2 separate regions of the Homo sapiens genome follow, and region 2 is linked to region 1. Evidence: promoter capture Hi-C in 16 types of primary human blood cells and fetal thymus (Javierre and others, 2016). All regions are on one chromosome and are shown on one strand. The core of a region is centred on a gene start or on the middle of the fragment in contact, and the rest is flanking DNA. Distances in the headings are between cores, read along the strand shown.

Region 1 (3,618 bases), core at 21-2,520:
GCTCACTTGAAAGGAAAAGCAACAGAAGAAACAAATACTATAAAAGGGAAAACCACTATGCAGTCGTTTCACAGAGAACTGGGGAGTAAAAGACCTTTTATACTATCTACTCTTTAGCAAAAGACAAACACTTGCATAGGAAATTAGCACAGGCCAGCGCAGTGGCTCATGCCTGTAATCCCAGCACTTTGGGAGGCTGAGGCAGGTGGATTACTTGAGCCCAGTTTACGGACCAGCCTGGGCAACACAGGGAGACCTTATTTCTACAAAAAAAAAAAAAAAAGAAATGTATGTGTGTGTGTATATATGTGTGTATTATATATGTGTGTATATTTATATATACATATATAATACATATACATATGCGTATATATACTTATGTGTATATATACATATATGTACATATATAAAATACATACACATATGTACATATATAAAACATATATGTATGTACATATGTGCGTGTGTATATATTTTTTTAAACTAGCCAGGCATGCCGTAGCATGCACCTGTGGTGGCATGCACCTATGGTCCTGGCTATTCAGGGGGCTGAGGTGGGAGGATCACTTGAGCCCAGGAGGTCGAGGCTACAGTGAGCCGTGATCATGCCACTGCACTACAGCCTGGGTGACACAACGTGACTCTGTCTCAAAAAAAAGAAAGAAAGAAAAAAGAAATAGCACAATAATGACCATTACAAACCAATATGCACCTAAATAGTAAATATAAGTTTTTCATCCTCAGCTCCAAAAAAAAAACACGAAAATGATTTTTCTACGATGAATTATAAGATTTTGTTTAGAATTTTGTATGTTCTTATGCCTCTATTTTTCCCTGACAACCAATTACTGCCTTATTACCATATTTTCAGAGATTATAAAGTATATTTTAAAGTTATCTAGCTGTTTATTATGTCCCCTAGCATTTCAACTTGCTTAAATATACAAATTTAACTATTTTGAAAAAACCAAAATGAATACAAAATGTAACATTTGCTAAATATTTCACAATTATAATTCACATCAGCATTCTTTACCTATTTCACTCAATTACAATGAGTTTTCTCAGAATGTATGTTTTGCAAATAGTCAAGTCTAATCTATTTTTCCTGTTTTCACTAGAGGGGACAGTGACCCGGCTTCCAAATGGCCTGAAAGTTAAGCTGAAGAATAAAAGCAACGTGGCTATTTTTAGAGCTCTACAGGCATAAAAATACAGCACTAAACTGTGACCTACAGCTATGCACAGCAAAGCATCACATCACGCGACAGTCTTCACTCTAGCTCGGAGCGCATCTATGGTGCTTTAGACGACCATTCTTCGTTTCACTACCAAAGACATGTCGGAATGCATTTAGGACCAGCATCTATAGCTGCTGGCATTTTTTTCAAATAGACTGAGCTACATTGAAAAGGCAGACCATTATATAACTTGTGAAGATTAAATAGTCAGTTATTTTTGTCATTTCTTCTAGCTTACTTACAAGGTGAATTAATGAGCATTCTCTCCAAATGAAGACATCACAGCCTCATTCCTAACACAGAAAGTTATTTATTTCAAATACAGTTTCGGTGGGTAAATAAGGTGGCGCATTCCTTCTACAGAGGACACACCTAGGAGAGCAAGATACGTCCCAGTGAAACACAGCTTCGTCACCAACTTCAGTCAACTCTTTGGCAACATCACATCAGCCCATCAACTTAACAGGTAAGCTTTAAACCTTTTCTGTCCAAAACATAAATCAAAAGTATCTGTAGGCAGCACTTGCCCCGACATTAATATTTTAAGTCTCTTAAGAACTTTTCACAGCAAGTGTTAGTGTTATTTTCGGATATCATTCAGTCTATATGTTATCTCTGACTTTGTATATCTAATTTCTGCTAAGCTACATAAAAGCATTTTCAAAGCTTGGTTTCTGCCACTGACCTAGTTAAAAATTAAGACGTTAATCCATGTTCTAATCTTATTTTGACCTGCATAGCTAAATGTGAAAAAAAATCGTGCACTTTTCGGGCAAATTTATTGTAAAGAAACAAATATTTGCTCAGAAGAACATAACATTTTGAGCAAATAAACAAGTGAAAATATTTCCATAGGCTAAAAATGCCACTTTTTGGCTGGATGAAATGGCCCAAAAACGATTCCTACAAACCCACACACTATCCTGGCTCAGACATAGTGACAAAGACTCTGCTTCGGGAATTAAAATGGCACCTAAAGGAGCGAGAGAGATTAATACAAGAAATCGAAAATGAACAAAAAGTGAAAAAAACAGGTGTGGATTACAACTGGCTCAGAAACTACCAGAATCCCCACACAACTATCCCAGTGACTGAACAAAGACAACTTGAAGTTCTTTGCTCACAAGTTCAACCTTGCCAAACTGGAACTATTCTCAGCAGGTAAAAATACTATGTTCTCTTATGATTCCTGCTACTGCTAAGTCCAAGTTCCTCATATATTTTGACTAGAAACTGTATTCTATCATGTAAATTCTTTAACTGTGTAGATGTCTGGTGAGCAATTGTTTTAAATTACATTTAAAATTTCTTTACTAGAAGCATAATTTTAAAACAACATGCAAAATACTCAAAAGGTGGGTAACTTGTATACATTATTCAAGCTGTATTTTGGAGATAAAGAGATATAACAAAAAATGTTCTAAACTGAATATTCATTACCATTTCCCCTCTAGATTTCGAGAAGTTTTGGCAGAAAATGATGTACTGCCATGGGAAATAGTCTACATCTTCAAGCAAGTTCTGAAAGACTTCCTAAGCAGCTCTGACAGAGGGAGTGAGCAAGAGGACCTGGAGGACTCAGGGAGCATGGACTGCTCTGCTCCTTCTGTGATCCAAGGTGACAGCTCCAAGAGGGCAGACAAAGATGAAATACCCACCATTTCCAGTTACGTAGACAAAAACACAAAGGACAGGTTCCCAGTGTTCTCACACAGAATATGGAACCTACCATATTATCACCCATCTAGTTAAGTTACTTACAACTAGAGGGGTTTTTATGAACACCTTAGAACTCCTAATATTAAGAATAAGAAAAAGTGATGTGACTTCAAGTTTTTCTTTGTTACAAGGTCAGTATCCTGTGGATGTAGCCTATGTTTTAAATAGTGTTCTTTTTTTAACCACTCTAAACATGCTATGTTTTCATTGAATAGTATGCTTTTAACTAAAATGTTTCCTAAGTATTTTGAAAAAATGTTTGCAGTATTTTCTTATACCTCAAACCCACCTCACAGGAACTAAAGCAACTTTAGTATGAAGTCTGACAAATTCTGTACAAAACTTAGATATTAACCTTGACTTTTATTCTACAATGAAGCTACATATAGAATTAAATAAATTATTAATACGAATCCTATCTTTACAACATAACAGAAATGAGAAGTCAACATCCCATTATACGATCATTCTCAGCAGGGGATGGGGAGAAGGGCGGTGAGGGAAAAAATATCATGCAGTTTAAAAATGAAGCAGGGCTTTAACCCAACGCTCAGCTTTGGTTTTAATCACAGTACTTTTAAGCTCAACATTAAGGGAACGTGTAATAAAACTCAGCTCTATCAGTAAAGATAAATAGACTGATTTAGCAACATGAGTA
Region 2 (3,525 bases), core at 248-2,747, 680 kb before region 1:
CCCACTTTACTTATTTTTTTGTTCCCTTGAGCCGCCTTGCTCCGGGAGTGATATGCTAACGTTTCCTATTGCTAGTTTGCTGCTATGACTCCTTACAGTTTCTGTGTTTTTGCTCCTTGAAGGTGGTTGCTGAGTTATTTTTATTTATTTACTTTTGAGACAGGGTCTCGCTCTGTCACCCAGGCTGGAGTGCAGTGGCATGATCTCGGCTCACTGTAGCCTCAACCTCCTGGACTCAAGCAATCCTCCCACCTCAGCCTTCCTAGTAGCTGGGACCAAGGCATGCCCACCATGCCCAGCTAATTTTCGTAGAGACTGGGTTTCGCCATGTTGCCCAGGCTGGTCTTGAACTCCTGAGGCTCAAGCAATCTGCCTGCCTCAGCTTCCCAAAGTGCTGGGGTTACAGGCATGAGCCACCACATCTGGCCCTGAGTTACTTGTTGCATAACTGATCTTTGCGTGAATCTTGTCTTTTTGCATTAAAAAGTCCTTCTTCGTGCTGCCTAAGGCTTTTTTGTCTTGAATTTTACCTTGCCTGCTAGCGTGGTCCCCATTTCTTTTCTTGCTGCATTTATATGACTCATGTACCTTCGTTCATCCCTTCAATTCCAGCATTTTGGATCACTTTACTTCAGCTGTGTCTTGAATACAGCATGTAGTTGGATGTCACTTGTGAGCCAAAGTGATTTTTTTTCCTGTGGTAAGTGAATCAAGCCCATGACTTTGTGATGGTCTAAGTGTTCACGTCCCCCCAAAATTCCTATGTTGAAACCCAGCTCCCAAGGTGTTGTACTAGGATGTGAGAAGGGCTGCCCATTTGGAACAGGATTAGTGCCCTGTTAAGGCCCTTGTTAAGGCCCGAGGGAACCGCTTGCCGCTTCGCCTTGTGAGGACACGTGGAAAGCACCCTCACAGGCATCGAATCTGCTGGCACATTGACCTTGGAGTTCTCAGCCCCAAGAACTGTGTTGCCTGTGAACTTCCCAGTTGTAGGTATTTGTTAGAGCAGCCTAACAGGACCAAGACAGATTCATGCATTCAGCGTCAGCTGTTATAATATTTTCTAATATGTGTATATCGTGACATTCGCCATGTGATGTGTAAGCTTTGCTCTTTCTTTCCTGTTATTTTTCTCAGGGGTTTGTATTTTTATTCTAAGGATTGCTTATCCTTTTTAAGTGCCCTTAGTTTCCTGTTTTCTCACCTAAACTTTCACCGTGGGTTTGTTAGTTTTGGGCAGTAACTAACTGTCCCCCTGATTGCCTGTGTCACCGTAAGTGAGCTGATGCTATTTTCCTCCTTCCCTCTCTCTTCTCCAGCGTTTCAAAGTTGCGATATTCCTACCTTGTCACTGCACACAACATTAGTTATGAACCTTTCACCCTCTGCCCTTATGATGCTCCTTGTGCTGAAGGAGCACAGTCATCTTTTGGGTTGGATGAAGTTAATATTCTAGTAGATTCTTCAAGAAGGGCTCTTGGGCCGGGTGCGGTGGCTCACACCTGTAATCCCAGCACTTTGGGAGGCTGAGGTGGGCGGATCACTTGAGGTCAGGAGTTTGAGACCAGCCAGGCCAACATAGTGAAACCCCATCACTACTAAAAATACAAAAATTAGCCAAGTGTGGTGACGCACACCTGTAATCCCAGGTACTAGGGAGGCTGGGGCAGGAGAATCACTTGGACCCAGGAGGCAGAAGTTGCAGTGAGTCAAGATTGCCCCATTGCACTCCTGCTGCACTCCAGCCTGGGCGTCCCAGTGAGAGACTCTATCTCAAAAAAAAAATAAATAAATAAAAAAATAAGACAAGGGCTCCTGGTTCAGAATGTTCTAAGTTCTTGTATTGTTAAAACTGTTTTCCATAGTTTTGATATTTGAAGGGAAGCTTCACTAGATATTGATATATTTGTATATCTATGCTTATCTATTTCATCCTGTTATAGGACAAGGGGTCCTGATCCAGACTCGAAGAGAGGGTTCGTGGATCTCACACAAGAAAGAATTCAGGGCGAGCCCACAGTGCAAAGTAAAAGCGAGCTTATTAAGGAAGTAAAGTGGTAAAAGGACAGCTACTTCGTAGACAGAGTAGAGCGTTCCCGAAAGTAAGAGGAGGAACGCGTCCACCCTAGGTACAATGCTGGTATATATGGGGAGATGCGCTCTGCTACAAGGGTTTGTGATAAAGAATTAATTTTCTTAATTGCTATATTTTGCAAGGATTGATATTATTACCTTTAAAGCAAAATTAGGAATGCCGTTGTTCTCTAGATATTGGGATAGCCGAACACTCCCAAGTCTGGGTCTGTTTAGTAAACATTATTCATTTGTTCCCTTAACTGTAAACATCTAGAGGCTTGGAATGCCTCACTTTCTGAGGATGCAGCTCAGCAAATCCCCGTCTCATTTTCCAGCCCTCACTGAAGATGAAGTCGCTCTGGTTCGAACGCCTCTGACAATCCTACGGGCGAGCACATCATTTTCCAGCCCTCACTCAAGATGGAGTCGCTCTGCTTCCAACACCACTGACAATCCTACGAGTGAGCATAACATTTCTGGATTAGAGGGAGACCCACTTTTTATTTACAGAACATATTGGCATTGGTTCCTCGTGACTGCTGCCCACCTGGGACAATGTGGTGATAGCGAGAGGAGGCTGCCTGTGCAAAAGGGGGTTTTGCTCTACAGGAGGGAAACCTGAAGATTATGAGTCTTAGAGCTGATGTAGGAACTGTTACACCCATGGGAGAGTGTAAGATAAACCTTATTTTCTAATGTCAACAGATCCTCTCTGAGAAGAGAAGGGAAAGGTCCCAGATTTACAGTTCTTTGGGATGTAAAGTAACGGTCCTGATTTTCATCTGGCTTGGAAATCTAAACACATACCAAAAGGGAGATAAACCTGTCAACCTTTTCCCTGGGTTCTTTCTTTCTTTCTTTCTCCCCCGTCCCTCCCTCTCTCTCTCTTTCCCTCCCTCCCTCCCTCCCTCCCTCTCTCTCTCTTTCCCTCCCTCCCTCCCTTCCTTCCTCTCTCTCTTTCCCTCCCTCCCTTCTTTCTCTTCCTTTCTCTCTCTCCTTTCTTTTTTCTTTCTCTTTTTTTTTTTTTTGAGACAGAGTCTCACCCTGTCTCCAGGCTAGAGTGCAATGGTGCGATCTCGGCTCACTGCAACCTCAGCCACCCGGGTTCAAGAGATTCTCCTGCTTCAGCCTCCCGAGTAGCTGAGACTACAGGCGCCTGCCACCACACCCAGCTAATTTTTTTATTTTTAGTAGAGATCGGGTTTCACCATGTTGCCCTGGCTGGTCTAGATCTCTTGACCTCATGATCCACCTGCTCCCAGCCTCCCAAAGTGCTGGGATTACAGGTGTGAGCCACCGCGCCTGGCCTCTTGCTTTCTTGCTTTCTTGCTCTCTTTCTCCTTCCCTTCCCTTCCTCTCCCCTCCCCTCACTCCTTCCCTCCCTCCCTCCCTCCCTTCCTTCCTTCCGTCCCTCCTTCCTTCCTCTCTTTTCCTTCCTTCCTTCTCTCT

Evidence for each region. Contacts are between HindIII fragments. The CHiCAGO score rates a contact against its expected background, and 5 or more counts as called.
Region 2: a fragment that was not itself captured here is called in contact with the fragment with the promoter of RD3L in region 1 in 1 of 17 cell types (endothelial precursors); the score reaches 7.4 in endothelial precursors.

Annotation. Positions count from the first base shown.
Region 1 is chr14:103,940,181-103,943,798 of GRCh38, reverse strand. RD3L (RD3 like) reads left to right here and starts at 1,270. Exons shown (of 3, transcript NM_001257268.2): 1 at 1,270-1,707; 2 at 2,097-2,402; 3 at 2,696-3,373. The coding sequence starts at 2,104. The coding sequence ends at 2,993. All of the region lies in intron 1 of TDRD9 (tudor domain containing 9), which reads right to left. The HindIII fragment of the contact is 3,550 bases long and covers 1-1,714 here.
Region 2 is chr14:104,621,355-104,624,879 of GRCh38, reverse strand. No RefSeq gene overlaps it. Among named protein-coding and RNA genes, the nearest start is that of TMEM179, 18 kb to the right of the region's middle. The HindIII fragment of the contact is 780 bases long and covers 1,108-1,887 here.